Linked DNA regions of Homo sapiens: region 1 is linked to region 2. The links are contacts of gene promoters, found by promoter capture Hi-C in human tissues and cell types (Jung and others, 2019). All regions are on one chromosome and are shown on one strand. Each heading gives the region's core, a stretch centred on a gene start or on the middle of the fragment in contact. The rest is flanking DNA. Distances are from core to core; before and after follow the strand shown.

Region 1 (6,592 bases), core at 2,917-5,416, 120 kb after region 2:
TTTCTTACTTTACTTTGAGTTCTTGATTTGTAAAGAGTCATGGAGGATCATATTTAGTACTGGTTATGTGCTTAGAGCCATGTGTAGTCAGTCAAAAAACACAGAAGGAGAACCAGCAGGCTCCAAAGGAAAGTGGCAGGCAAGGACCTTTTCTTCTGCCTCTCGCATACCCTTCTACCCATCTTATTGTTCAACACCGGTAATCCTGTTTTTAAGATTCATGACCTGGAAAAGAAGCCCTTCTCCTGTAGAGGAGGTCTCACCTGGAGTTGTTGGATGATTGATAGAAGGACAGGTTAAGATGGCCCAGGAATGAGATGCTGGAGGCGTGCCTGGGGTGGAGGGGCATATGTCTGAGTATAATTATGGGGCAGGAATACCTTCAGCTCACAGGCCTCAGAGATACAACCTCCTGAGGTCACATGGAATTCTGAGCAACTTCCCAAGAGTAACACAGAAGGGCAGACTCTTTTTTTTTTTTTTGAGACAGGGTCTTGCCTGGAGTGCAGTGGCACAATTATATATCACTTGAACTATTGGGTTCAAGTGATCCTCCCACCTTGGCCTTCTGAAGTTCTGAGATTACAGGTGTGAGCAGCTATGCCTGGCCAAAAAGCAGATTTTAAAAAATGTGTAATATGTTTTATTGCCATTTAAAAATTATTTCCAGCTGAATACAGTAAATACTAAAGTATGAGGAAATGTAGAAATACTAAACACTTAACTTCATTCCCTTTGACTTTCCATCTCTTCCCTTCTCACCCTTTCACCTCACTCCTTGTGTATTTACTGAACACTTGATACGTGTCAGCTTCCCCAAGGATCTTATTCAGTGGTGGGGAGATGATAGGCACATGGCTGTAATGATTGCCAGATTATACTAAGTGCCTTAACCTAGGCTGTCCCTGGTTGGGGAGGAAGGGGGAGTGTCATTCTCTTCTGGGGAAAGGCAAAAATTGAGGCCCAGGGAAGATCAATGCAGGGCCACATGTGGAATGGGGCAGAAGAGGAGTAGTTTGTACCCAGTTCCCTAGCCTGTTCCCATGTCCTGTGTGCTGAGGGACAAGCAGGCCTTTTGTCATTGCTGTGCCTTATTCACCAGCATCTTGGATGGTAGCTGTGGCCCATAAAAGGCTCTGTGGGGACCTGTGAACATTCTCTCTTCCTGAAGGCCAGAGTTGAGACAGGGAGTGGTGGGAGAAGGCAGCATATGATTGAGGCTTGGGCTCACTCAGGTAGCTGTGAATGCTTGCACCATTCCAGGAGTGTGAATGCATATAGATCTTCAGCTTTCAGGGTCCCCTCCAAGCCACCCATGGGGGGCATGTGGTGAAGTGAATCTACAGATCTACATACCCTGTTTGCCTGGGAGGGGAAGGGAGAGGCGCCCACAGCTCCTCGTCCCTCTGCAGACACCATATGTATTGCCCTCCAAGAAAAAAAAGGTGCTTAGCAAAACCCTTTCCCTGTCTCCAAAGGACACTTGCTATCGTGTGAGAGAGTGTGGTCAGGAAGGCTTCCCATGACACTTGGGTTTTAATCCCTTCTCTCCCGCTTCTGTCATTAGGGAAATATATGAGTGGTATAGGTGTAGAAACTTGACTTAGCTGTGTTATTAAATATACAATATAATTTTGTGTAACTTTGCTTGCTGTGGTGGCCTGTTTGTTTTTGAGGGGATTAGTCCAAGTCTGCATGAAATGTACCGATTCAAATTTGTAAAGTGAGTTGCAGCCTCTGGGGGGTTTTGATGGAGGAGCTGCCCCTTCTTGCTTCATTTCTCCCAGAGGTGAGGGAGCGTCTGGAAGGAAAGCAATCACTGTGTACTGTTCGGTAAGCGGGTGGGTTTTGGGGAAAGGAGGGTGTTTGTTCCCAGTAGCTACAGGGTTTACTGTGTGTTGTGTGTGTGGTAGATGCATATTCAGCGGCCTGTTGAAATACATCTTTCTTTAGTGAAAGGTAATTGCATCTGGAGTTTTCTCTGACAGAGAGGTTTGAAAGATTGGAAAAGGAGGCAGCCAACTTGCAGTTCAGATTCTTTTGGTTGCCAGTGGTGCTGCAGTCCTTTGGCCCTGGACTTCATAACTCGCTGAGTACTTCTAGGGGAAGAAGAATCAAAAGTAAAGATTGTGCCTCTGAGTTTTTCTTTTTCTGGCTGGCTGTGGACAGCTGGGTGTAAAGGGGATGCTTGACCTTGATAACTCGAGGAAAAACTCAGGTGGATGACTATAGTGCTCTGCATTGTAGCTGGTCCTCCTGATGGCGTGGACTGTAGCTGACTTGGGGACCTCTCTCTTCTCCTTTCCCAGGGTCAGGGGCAGAGTGGGTAGTTTCTTCTGGGTCTTGTCTAGGGAAAGAAGACCTGAAGAGCTAGTCAAAGAGTGGCTTGGTGTCCCCCTTTGCGAAACTGCAGAGTAGAGAAGGGAGCTTCTTGCCTGTGGTGCCCTGGATGAGAGAGTTGCAGGGACAAAGACACCATGGAGGGCCCAGGGCTGGCATGGCTAGAAGGGGCGTCATGACACCCGGAGAAAGATGGAAGCTCCAGGTAATTCTAGGTGGGCCCACTGGTTCAACTGGCAGCAAGCTAAAATTGGAAAGGGATCAGTGTGGGGATGTCATTGATTTGGAGTCAGGTCCTGCTAAATCTCAGTACAGTGCCCTCCACCCTGGAGTTCATTGCCCATGCATATGCAAGCCTCTCAGACAGTCATATCCATCAGTAGCAAGGACCAAATACCACAGGGGTGGGTTTCAATTCCTCAAGACCCTGGATTTCTGCCATTACCCAGGGCAGGATAGGCACAGGGAGGCTCATGTGCTGAGCTGCTGGGCTGAGACCAGCACTCTCCGAGCCCTGGCTGGCCCAGAACCCATTTGTGGGAGCAGCTCCTTCCTTGGCCAGCACGATTGGCCCACTTGTCAAGAGCCGACTTACATGAAACCCTACAAGTAGAAGCAGAGGCTCCTGCAGACGGCTGAATACTGTGGATACAGAGTTGATGTGTCCAGACTTGGCCCCCTGCTAACAGGGATGCATTTCTATCCCTCAGTCTAGTGTTTAAATTCTTTCTTTCTCCATCTCTGTCTCTGTCTTTCTTTCTCTCTCCCTTCCTCCTCAATACCCACCTTCCACTCTCTGTCTTTCTCTCTTCAGATACTCCTTAAGCATTACCATGTTCTGGTCACTAGAGAGACAACAGTGAACTAGACAGCATAGTCTGATGGGAGAGACCGACAAGTAAAATAGGTAGTAGAGTGTGGTAAGTTCTCAGATGAGGTTGAGACAGGGCCTTGGGAGCACGCTGGACGGATCAGTCATCTTTCTCTTCCTCCCACTGCCTACACCTCCTGGCTCCAGTCCCTACCTGCACCACTCTTTCTTCCACTCTGCTCATCAGGAAGGGAAATGGGAATTTTCCTGCTTTAGCTGCTGCTGACTTTTCTGGGTTGTGTGTGCAACGTGCCTGTGTTTTTCCACCTTTGATCACCGTTCTGCCAACAGATAATTTAGCAATCACATCCCAAAGTGGAAGCATGGAGTTAATGTTAAAATTAGTTTTCTTTTTTTTCTGTCTTTAAATTTCAGTGGGTGATGAGGCAGAGAGGGAGGCGGGAGGGTGAAGGGGAGCCATAAATTCTGTGGCTGGTGTAGCTGTTCTCTGAGCAGCCGGGAAGCCTCTGATGTCTCCACAGCACTTTCATTAACATTTAAATTAAGGGTTTGTTTTTCAGTCTGTTTTATAGGCAGGGACCTTTCATGGCCTGTCACATGCAGCACCCACCCCCCCTCCCAACCCAACTTCCCAAGCAAGTGTGTAATTGTAGCCACTGCTGTATCCTAATCTGTGTTGCAGTCGGAGGTTCAAAGGGAATTCCTGGAGCTGGAGTTTTGGAGGTACAAGATGTAATAGTCAGGATGTCGGTGTTACTCCTCAAATGAAGGTGCTGTGTAGGAGCTCTTTCTCCTCTTATCTGACCTGTGCTTTCTCAGCTCTTCAAGGGACACACACTTCAATCTGACTCCGACCCCTCCCGCCCTTCCTTCCTTTGGGCCATGGGGCAGGTAGGAAAGGGTGCAGTCCATTCAAGTGATTTCTCCTTATATTACAAGTTAGGGCCGGGGACAGACTATTCTAAGATACAGATTTCCATGCTTATCTTCCTCCTTTTGATTATTATTATTATATTTTAGCCTCACAAATACTTCCACCTACCCCACTGACTCTTGGAGAAGTAATAAAATAAATGGGATTACCATCTGAGAATTTGTAATTACAGTAGGGTCCTTTGGTCCTAAAAAGTGTATTCTAACATGGATATGTGTATGCATACCATACATACTAGCTCTGCATGTACCTTGTTGGAAATAGCTTACTGATTGAATTTGATAAAGCTATTCTCCCAGATCTATGTATTCAGAAGAAACTCTACTACAACCTCAGGTTTCTGAGCTTCCTTTCACACAGAAATATTTGGCAGCATTTGGGGAGGTTTTGAAAAGACATCCCTGCTCTGGTCTCCTTCCCATCAGCACCCTGTTGATCTGTAGATGACAAGAATGTGTACTAGACACACATGAAGCATCTCATTGCTTCATAACCTCTGAGGGCTTAGTTTTCCCACTGCTGGTCTCTAGGTAGCTTTCTTCTCTGGACAGTGAAGAGAGGAGCATTGGGACCTTTCTCTCTTTCTGTTCAGAGGCTGAGAGTTTCCTTTCCCTTGGAGCCTGGACTTTACTGCACGAGTCACTGCATCTTTCCTCCTTCCTCCACTAAGCCACTCAAACCATCCATGACTTATCTGCAGGGTTCAAGATGGCTGAGTGTTTTGCCCTTCTATGCCAGGTAACCTTGTGAACAGGTGGACACCCTCATGCCCTGGGGTCTTGCCGAAGGGGAGTGAGGGAGGTGCTGGGGCAACCCCTCTGCAGGTGCTGCTTGGGCTCAGATTGCATGCTGGTGTCCAGGCCCCTCCTGGTGGTGATTAATCTGGGACACGGGCCGACAGAGGCCCAGCCAGGGCTGCTTTGGTCCCTCACTGTGAAGACCTTTGGCTTGGAGACTGAACTGATCTCTATAGCCTGCTTCGGCTTGGGGTTTGATCTGTCAAGGCTAAAGAGGAACCTGATGGTAGAGCGGAAACTTGTAGCCCTGTCTGACTTATGGCACTGATCCGTTCCAGTGGCCTTGTCATGATAATACTCGTATATTTAAGAAGATTTCCCCACCTGTTAGCTGTAACACTCAGATCAGTCAAAAGAGGGATCTTCATGAAAAATCTGTGCTTTTAGTTTTTTGAGCCAATGGAGCTTACTCTTGTAAGTAGACTAGGGGCTGGGTAGGGGTTTCTAATGAGAATGAGTAAAAAAGGCAATAATGAGGTTGTGGCTGGATTAGTAACAGAATGTATGTTTTTATGTGGAGGGGGTCATATCACAGGTAGAAGGATCACTCCATCCTCCTGCAATTAGGTGGCTCTCAGGCCACTTGGAGCAGATTTTCAGATTTCAGTATCTAGAATCAAGTCTTACCTTCCTCATTTTCTTTTTCATTTCAAACCATTCCCCCCTGCCACCCAGACGAAGTCTTGCACTGTTGCCCAGGCTGGAGTGCAGTGGCGCGATCTCGGCTCACTGCAACTTCCGCCTCCTGGGTTCAAGCAATTGTCCTGCCTCAGCCTCCTGAGTAGCTGGGATTACAGGCGCATGCCACCACGCCTGGCTAATTTTTGTATTTTTAGTAGAGACGGGGTTTCACCATGTTGGGCAGGCTGGTCTTGAACTCCTGACCTTATGATCCACCTGCCTTGGCCTCCCAAAGTGCTGGGATTATAGATGTGCGCCACCATGCCCGGCCTCAAACCATTTTTTTTATTTTTAAATAGGCCTCCCTCTCCCTTTCTATGTACCAGAGTCCTGGTCCCCAGGACTTCCAAGCGGCAGTACATGGTGCCAGCTATATTTCTTCTCTGAGTTCAGGACAATCACACGTGGCTCCACTTGATAATGGGCTTAAGGCCCAAGAATAGGAATTCTGTTGCCCATGACAGTTTCTCTGAATCAGTGAGTCTTAGTGAGTTTCATCATTACGGTAGTGCCATTTGGCAGTTAGAAGCTTGGGATTAAGAGCTAGGGAATTTTCCTCATACCATGGAGAAAGAGAATAGGCACCATGTTGTACACTAGTAGAATATGTTGATACTGTTGATGTGGGAAGCTGGCTATAGAGACCCTATGAATCATAAAGGTTGTGTTGATACTGAATTTTGCTTTGCTGACTAGAATTTTACACATGATGACAATAAAGAATACATGCATCAGCAGATCAATGAATATTTTTGGCTCTTCCTTCAGACTAGTACTAAAAGGTCTCTGACTACGGATTGGACATCTGCTAATCCCTGTGCCTCTCTAGCAGTTTCTTGAACAAGACTCTTTAGAAGTTTCAGATAGTGAGCTTTTTTTTTTTTTTTTTTTTTTTTGAGACAGAGTCTCGCTGTGTTGCCCAGGCTGGACTACAGTGGCGTGATGATGATCTCAGCTCACTGCAACTTCCACCTCCCCGGTTCAAGTGATTCTCTTGCCTCAGCCCCC
Region 2 (6,408 bases), core at 1,975-4,474:
ATCTCGAAGATTATAGTTTTATATCTATAATTATACTAATTAAGTGACTTATTTATGTTTTGAATATTTGTTTTATTTCTAGGCTCCCGGGGAGCTTTCTGTGAAGTGAGACCAGATGATAAAAGAATTCTGGAATTTTACAGCAAGTTAGGATGTTTTGAAATTGCAAAAATGGAAGGATTTCCAAAGGATGTGGTTATACTTGGTCGGAGCCTGTGACATTTGTTGACACTGTGAACTGTCCAAAAGTCTCTTAACTGCACCTTGTGAATGGTAGTTGAGGTCTTCATACAGTTCAGCCTCTAGAATGGTAACAAATCAGCCAATTGGATTCGAAACAAAGAAGACTATGTAAAACTCACCCATCACACTTTGAGACTACTCACTGGTTGGAAGAATATAGTATTGCAGCAAATCCTGTATGAAAGAGAGATGTGGGCTTCCTTTTTGAGTCTTGTGTTAGGTGCTGAGACCTTTTACATGGGCTTATACAGGGAGAGAGTCTTCAATAAATGTAGTCAGCACTATTTTCTGCATCCAGTGTGGTTGCGTTTCTCACCTGAGAGTAATCAAGATAACATCTGTCATCTTCCTTGGTTTATTGAGTGAAATGCCTCTCAGTCTTAGGGGACATGGCAGAGATGAAAGAAAGAAAGAGTGGGTTTCAGAAGTGTCAGGGTGGAGTGATTCCAAGTGGGATGGTTGTGGCATTAGTTTAAGCTGAATAAATAATTTCAATTTGGGGCAGTTATTCTGCTTTTTGTAAAGCCGTGGCCAATTGTCTCCTGTAATGACTGTTGGTTCAGGCATGTTGTACTTTGTAGGGACAAATGTGCATTTGTTTGTGGCAAAAGCCTACAATTGACAAACTTGTAAATTTCTTTGTATATAAACTAGCTGTAACCTGACTATCCTTTGTGTTTACTGTTTTTGTAAATTTTTTTCCTCTATAAATGAAAGGGTGTTGGTTCAGAATGGCACTTTGAATAATGTAAACCAGTGAAAAGTGGATTTTCTTTACTTTTGTCTTTGGGTTTGGGGTTGTTTTTGTTCTTTTTGAAGTTTTATTATTTTTAAAGTGCCTCCCACCTAGGCGTAGGCCATGACCATTTGGGGTACGAGAGCCTAATTTTGTAGGACTTAATCTGTTGAAAAGTGCAGTTACTTCTGGAAATTAACCTCAATATTAGGTCAGCATGTGAAATGTTGGATTTGACATGTCAGGTAGGGTTCAGGGACTGATTGGTCCCATTTGCCCTCAGGTCAGTTGTTTAATCTCAAGACCTGTTACTACTGATTTTATTAAATCAGAGTCTTTAATTCTTGCATGTTTGTATCTAATTTCTGAATGAATGAGCACACTTTAACCAGTTATTTACAGTTACCTTTTTCCTTTAACCGGATTGTGAAAGCTTCATGTATTTTAATTTAGATTCTGTGTTTTTAAGGGTTCTGAGCATGAAGCTGGCAGATAGTCGGCAGGACTCATTTTTTCATCATGGCTGGCTGATTTCTCCATAGATTGATAACAGTATTTTGTTATCTTGCTTCTCTGTAGTTTTGCATCAGCTGTTTAACTTTGAGCTGAGTGAGGGGAGAGGGGTAAAGAGAAAGAAACTTAAGTTTTCTTTCACAGAACTCCACCATTGTGGGCTTTGAGAGAGCCCTAAAGCATTGTACCTAGTGGTACCTAGTGACTTCCAACCAAAGCCTTTGAGTATGCACTAAATAGGTGAGAAGAAAGGAGAGAAGGTTTTTAGGTTAGAAACCTTTAACCGATAGAAGGATATGGTATGTTGTAAAGCTGGAACCAAGTTTGCATTTTTGAGGGCTTGAGATGAAGGGAAGACTCTTACCAGATAGTAAGACAGCTGAGTTTTCCTCAGTTTTCTCGTCTTAACACTAGTGGACAATTCTAGCATTTTGTTTGGAGGATTTCAGAGTTAACCTCATGGAATTCAGGATTTTTTAGCAAGTTTGCTTTTGGTTTTATCTTGGCTTTTAGTAATCATGTTGGCTGGTCTGGTCACAGGTGACTGTGAAACAGATGCCCTGGTCTTGCTTTCATCACTCTAGGATCATGAAGTGCTATGCTATTTCCTGGTTATGAATATTAAGGTTGGAATTACATTTTTATTGATTGTTTGGATCAGAGCTCAGTTCCTGTAGAAAACGAACTGTAAAAGACCATGCAAGAGGCAAAATAAAACTTGAAGTGAATGCTTGTCGTGTTGTATTGTGTGAATCTATTTCCTGTCTGCCCCCTCCCTTTTCTCCTCTTTCATGCCTCACCTACAAGCAGGTATTCTCTCCTCTCCACAGCTGTTCCAAGTTAGAGATTGGATCTTGAAGGCAGCCCTCCCCTACCTCCATCACCAGTAAGACTTCCAGATTTTCATTAAGACAAGAGCTAAGAAAAGTAGACTAGTTTTTAGCCAAGCCACCCCACCCTCTTGCCACAGTTATAACCTGGATGTGAAATAGGGCCTCTAGTTTGAGTTTTGCCATCTATTAGGATAGAAAGCACACAGTTTGCCTGATTCTTAAAAGGCGAAAGATGGCGCGAGTAGCATAAACTGACAAAATAATCCACGGCGCAAAGATACTCCTGGATGATTTGGAATTAAAAGCTCAAAAAGCGTGGGTGGGCCAGGAACAGCCAACACACATGAGCTAACTAGTCCTCTGCTAGCAAGTGCCAGCAGCTAAGTCTCAGTGAAGGCATAGCAAGTTGCGGGGTCTTTAGAGCAGGAAGAATTAAGAGAGGCTTAGCCGAGAGGACAGACAGGACAGACGTGTTGGGATGGAAATTCCTAAGGCTCCTCGGCTCTCTTGAGGCAAAGACAATCTGAGTGCATTTCCTTTGCTTGTAGCAGAAAAGCACTGCCCTGAACCCCACCTTTGCTGGGAGGAGTAAGAAGGGTTTACATTTTTATATCTATAACTCCTTTAACGAAAGCTTACCCTGGGTTGGAAGAGTGGGAGACACTCTTCCGACACAGAGCGAGGAGCTTGGGGAAGTGGACACCCTCATGGTCGTGGAAATGAGCAAGGATGTTAACATAAACCCCAAATCCATTCTTCTGTGATGTTACTTCCTTTCTCTTCGGTCTTGATAAAATATGAGCAGAAGCTGCGGGCTCCGGGTAGGGCTGCGGGGTCTCGGCGCCTTTTCTTTTCCAGGACTGTGCGTCTCCTTTAATGGGCGGGGCCGGAACTGGCCGAGGGTCCCCGGCTTTGTGCGTGTCGGGGGCGGAGTTTGAAGAAGGCTCTTACAGCATGGCCGCCGGTACTGCAGCTGCCTTAGCGTTTTTGAGTCAGGAGAGCCGAACGCGGGCCGGGGGTGTCGGGGGCCTACGGGTCCCGGCCCCGGTCACTATGGACAGTTTTTTCTTCGGTATTAGTGAAGGGAGAGGCTGAGGGTGGTACTGGGGCGGTAAGAGGTAGGGATGTGAGGCGGGAATGCGGAGGGTTTCAAGGCGTGGGTGTGGGCGGAGGGCTGCTTCGCTGTTCCCGCAGGAGAGGGGGCCTCGCACGCACAGCCAAAGGGGGTGGCGAGATCCCTGCCCCAGATGTGTTGGGCGGGGCCCACGGCAGAGCGTCCCAGGTGTTCTGAGAGAAGAGACGGAGGTGGACGTGTAAATGACCCGTCCGCCCAAGGTTACACGTGACGGCGGGTTGGTGACATCCCCCGCTGCCCAGCCCCGTACACACGCTCAGGCATACTCACTGTTATTTCTACCAGGCTGTGAGCTCTCCGGCCACACCCGCTCCTTCACCTTTAAGGTAGAGGAAGAGGATGATGCGGAGCACGTGCTGGCACTAACCATGGTGAGGGGCAGGGGAGTGGGGTTTTAATGAATAAGCCCAGGCAGGCAATATAGGTCTCTACCCAACCTCCGGATCCCCTTTACTTGGAGACACATCCTCAGCCTAACCCCCCGGCATGGGCGGCTCCCCTGGCCAGGTGAACCGGGACCTCTGAGGCTGGGCAGGTGCTAGGGTAGATGCCTTTAGTTGTGGTGTCAACCCTCACTTGAGGAGACCCTGAGGCCCTGTGTACCGTTCCCAGCTCTGCCTCACCGAGGGAGCCAAAGACGAGTGTAATGTGGTAGAAGTTGTGGCCCGGAACCATGACCATCAGGAGATCGCAGTCCCTGTGGCCAACCTCAAGCTGTCCTGCCAACCCATGGTGAGTTCCCCAGCTCTGCCTTGGTGGTGGTGGTGGTGGTGGTGAGGGGATTGAGGACGTTAGCACTCATTACAGTGTGGGGTGGGCTAGGAGTGGGCCAGGCCTTCATCCTTGTCTTCCTCCCAGCTCAGTCTGGATGACTTCCAGCTCCAACCACCTGTAACCTTCCGCCTGAAGTCGGGCTCTGGCCCTGTGCGGATCACTGGGCGGCACCAGATTGGTGAGAAGAGGGGAGGGCCCTCTCCTTTGCTTCCAGTGGACTCTCCCATCAGGCTTCCCCCACTCCGCACTCCTGCCCCATCCCACCCTCATCTCCCAGTGCAGCCCTGTACAGGTCTGTGTGCCCTCCACGCTGTGCCCTGTGCATGACATGCCCTCTCCTTTCCGTCTACTCAAGCCTACCTCCTCCATGGAACATGGCCCAACTTCTCCAGCTCCAATAATGAAGACTCCTTTGGCTCTTTGTGACCCAGTTTAGGGTCTGAGGTTCTTCCCACCTAGCCCATAAGCACTGGGAGGTCATGGTCCCTGTAAGCCTAACACCACGGCGTGAAGAAATGGCATGCGGTGTGAAACGGTCTGGTCTTAACACCCCATCCTTCTACTGCTTGTGTGTCCACCAGTTACGATGAGCAATGATGTTTCTGAGGAGGAGAGCGAGGAAGAGGAAGAGGACAGTGATGAGGAAGAAGTTGAGCTGTGCCCCATCCTTCCTGCCAAAAAGCAGGGGGGCAGGCCCTAGCCCTCCTAGGTGAGTTGCGGGGAGAAGTGCCTAGCAGGCTCTGGGAAGGGGCAGGAGAAGCAGGTGAGGGCCTAAATGCTGATTCCTTGTTTCCTCTTTTCAGGTCAGCTCCATGTGCCATGCACCGCCATGCACCCTGTTCCCTGACAAGTTTCAACAATTGTAAATATTTCTTCCTTGAAGAGGAGAGCTTGGGTGGGGGTTGGGTGGGAGGGACTTGGGTCTTTGGTGCTAGGAGAGGGCCTGTGCTCCACACAGCCGTGGTTTTCTGATTTTCACCATGCCCGGGGCCTCCCTTCCCACCTGCCTGTGAGAATTGGAGGTTAGTGCCTGAAGCTCAGAGCTACACATTTTTAATAGTTTTTACATTTTTGGATAAAGGTTGAAATAAAGTGGTGTGGAGTTTTTGCAGCTCTTGTGTGGCTTCTTCCTGTGCTGGGTGATGTTTCCCTAGGGACCGCCAGGTGGCACTGTGGAAGCACCCAGCGTGGCCCTGGGCCTGGGGGAGGGTGGAGAACTGTGGGATCCTCTACCCTCATGGCCCTGGGCTAGGACCTGGGGCCTGGGCCCCAGTTGCCTTGCTGGAAGGGGACCTCCCAACACTCAGCCCATTCCCAGTCTCTGCAGGTGGGAGAGGGTCATCGCAGGAGGTTATCAGCATCCAAACAAGGGGTCTGGGCCTCTGTCAGCACTCGGCTGATGGGCAGGGGGGCAGATAAGCGAGCTTAGGCAGCCTGAGGAATGCGCGTCCCTAGCCCCACGAGGGTCTCTGGCCCAGAGAGGGCCTGTGAGGGCAGGGCGGGACCAGGCTTCGCTCCTCCTTTGAGCCTTGCAGGCTGTCTCTGAGCAGGGCTGGGCCCTTAGAGAAACCTGACTCCGGGGGCCAGATGGAGGGGACTGGCCAGATTGGGTGACAGGGAAACCAGAATCCGGGTGGCCTGGCATATGGGGGCAGAAAGGGGCCCCAGGGAATTTGCCTCCTGGACTAAGGGATTCTTGTCCCCCACACACCGTGGGGTCTGGGGGTCTTTGGTGCCTGGAATCAGGTAGTTCTGGCACTTGGCTGCCTTTGTGCCAGGAAGAACTGACACACCTGGTTTGAGGATGAGTGTATGTGACCAGCTCTGGGGTCAGCAGTTCAGCAGCTGTGTTGGTTGTGGGGGGAGGGTTGTCAATGCCCACAAACAAACAAACAAACAAAACATTGCCTCCCCAGACAACCTGGGGCCAGACAGGCTGAGGATAGACAGAGAACAGGGCCTGATGGGGGTCAGGCCAACTCCCACTCCCAGCCTCTAGTCAAGGGGGAGGGGCCCCGGGATATCGCGGGCTGGTGGTTCTGGGGCAGGTGAGGTCAGCTTTGAAGACCTTGCGTCCGCAGTACCGACCCGCACGCTCTTCAGCGCATCCCTAGTGAAGGAGGTTCTCCCCCAGCCCGTGGTGAGGAACTAGGGGTCCAGTTTCCAACCTCCCT

The links. Contacts are between HindIII fragments. The study calls those that stand out against the background at their distance.
Region 1: a contact is called between a fragment that was not itself captured here and the fragment with the promoter of NPM3 in region 2, in 3 of the 25 tissues and cell types used here (heart left ventricle, lymphoblastoid cells and mesendoderm cells).

What each region holds. Positions count from the first base shown.
Region 1 is chr10:101,657,528-101,664,119 of GRCh38, reverse strand. The region is part of intron 5 of FBXW4 (F-box and WD repeat domain containing 4); the gene reads left to right. Among named protein-coding and RNA genes, the nearest start is that of FBXW4, 34 kb to the left of the region's middle. The HindIII fragment of the contact is 6,704 bases long and covers 815-6,592 here.
Region 2 is chr10:101,780,262-101,786,669 of GRCh38, reverse strand. It overlaps NPM3 (nucleophosmin/nucleoplasmin 3), which reads left to right and starts at 3,224. Exons shown (of 6, transcript NM_006993.3): 1 at 3,224-3,397; 2 at 3,746-3,831; 3 at 4,073-4,192; 4 at 4,319-4,412; 5 at 4,816-4,943; 6 at 5,038-5,345. The coding sequence starts at 3,280. The coding sequence ends at 4,934. OGA (O-GlcNAcase) reads left to right here. Exons shown (of 16, transcript NM_012215.5): 16 at 83-2,220. The coding sequence ends at 219. It also overlaps a transcript of FGF8 not described here. RefSeq lists enhancers at 3,657-4,296, 5,224-5,518, 5,397-6,247, 6,325-6,408, 6,095-6,408 and a promoter at 5,364-6,408. The HindIII fragment of the contact is 4,177 bases long and covers 2,187-6,363 here.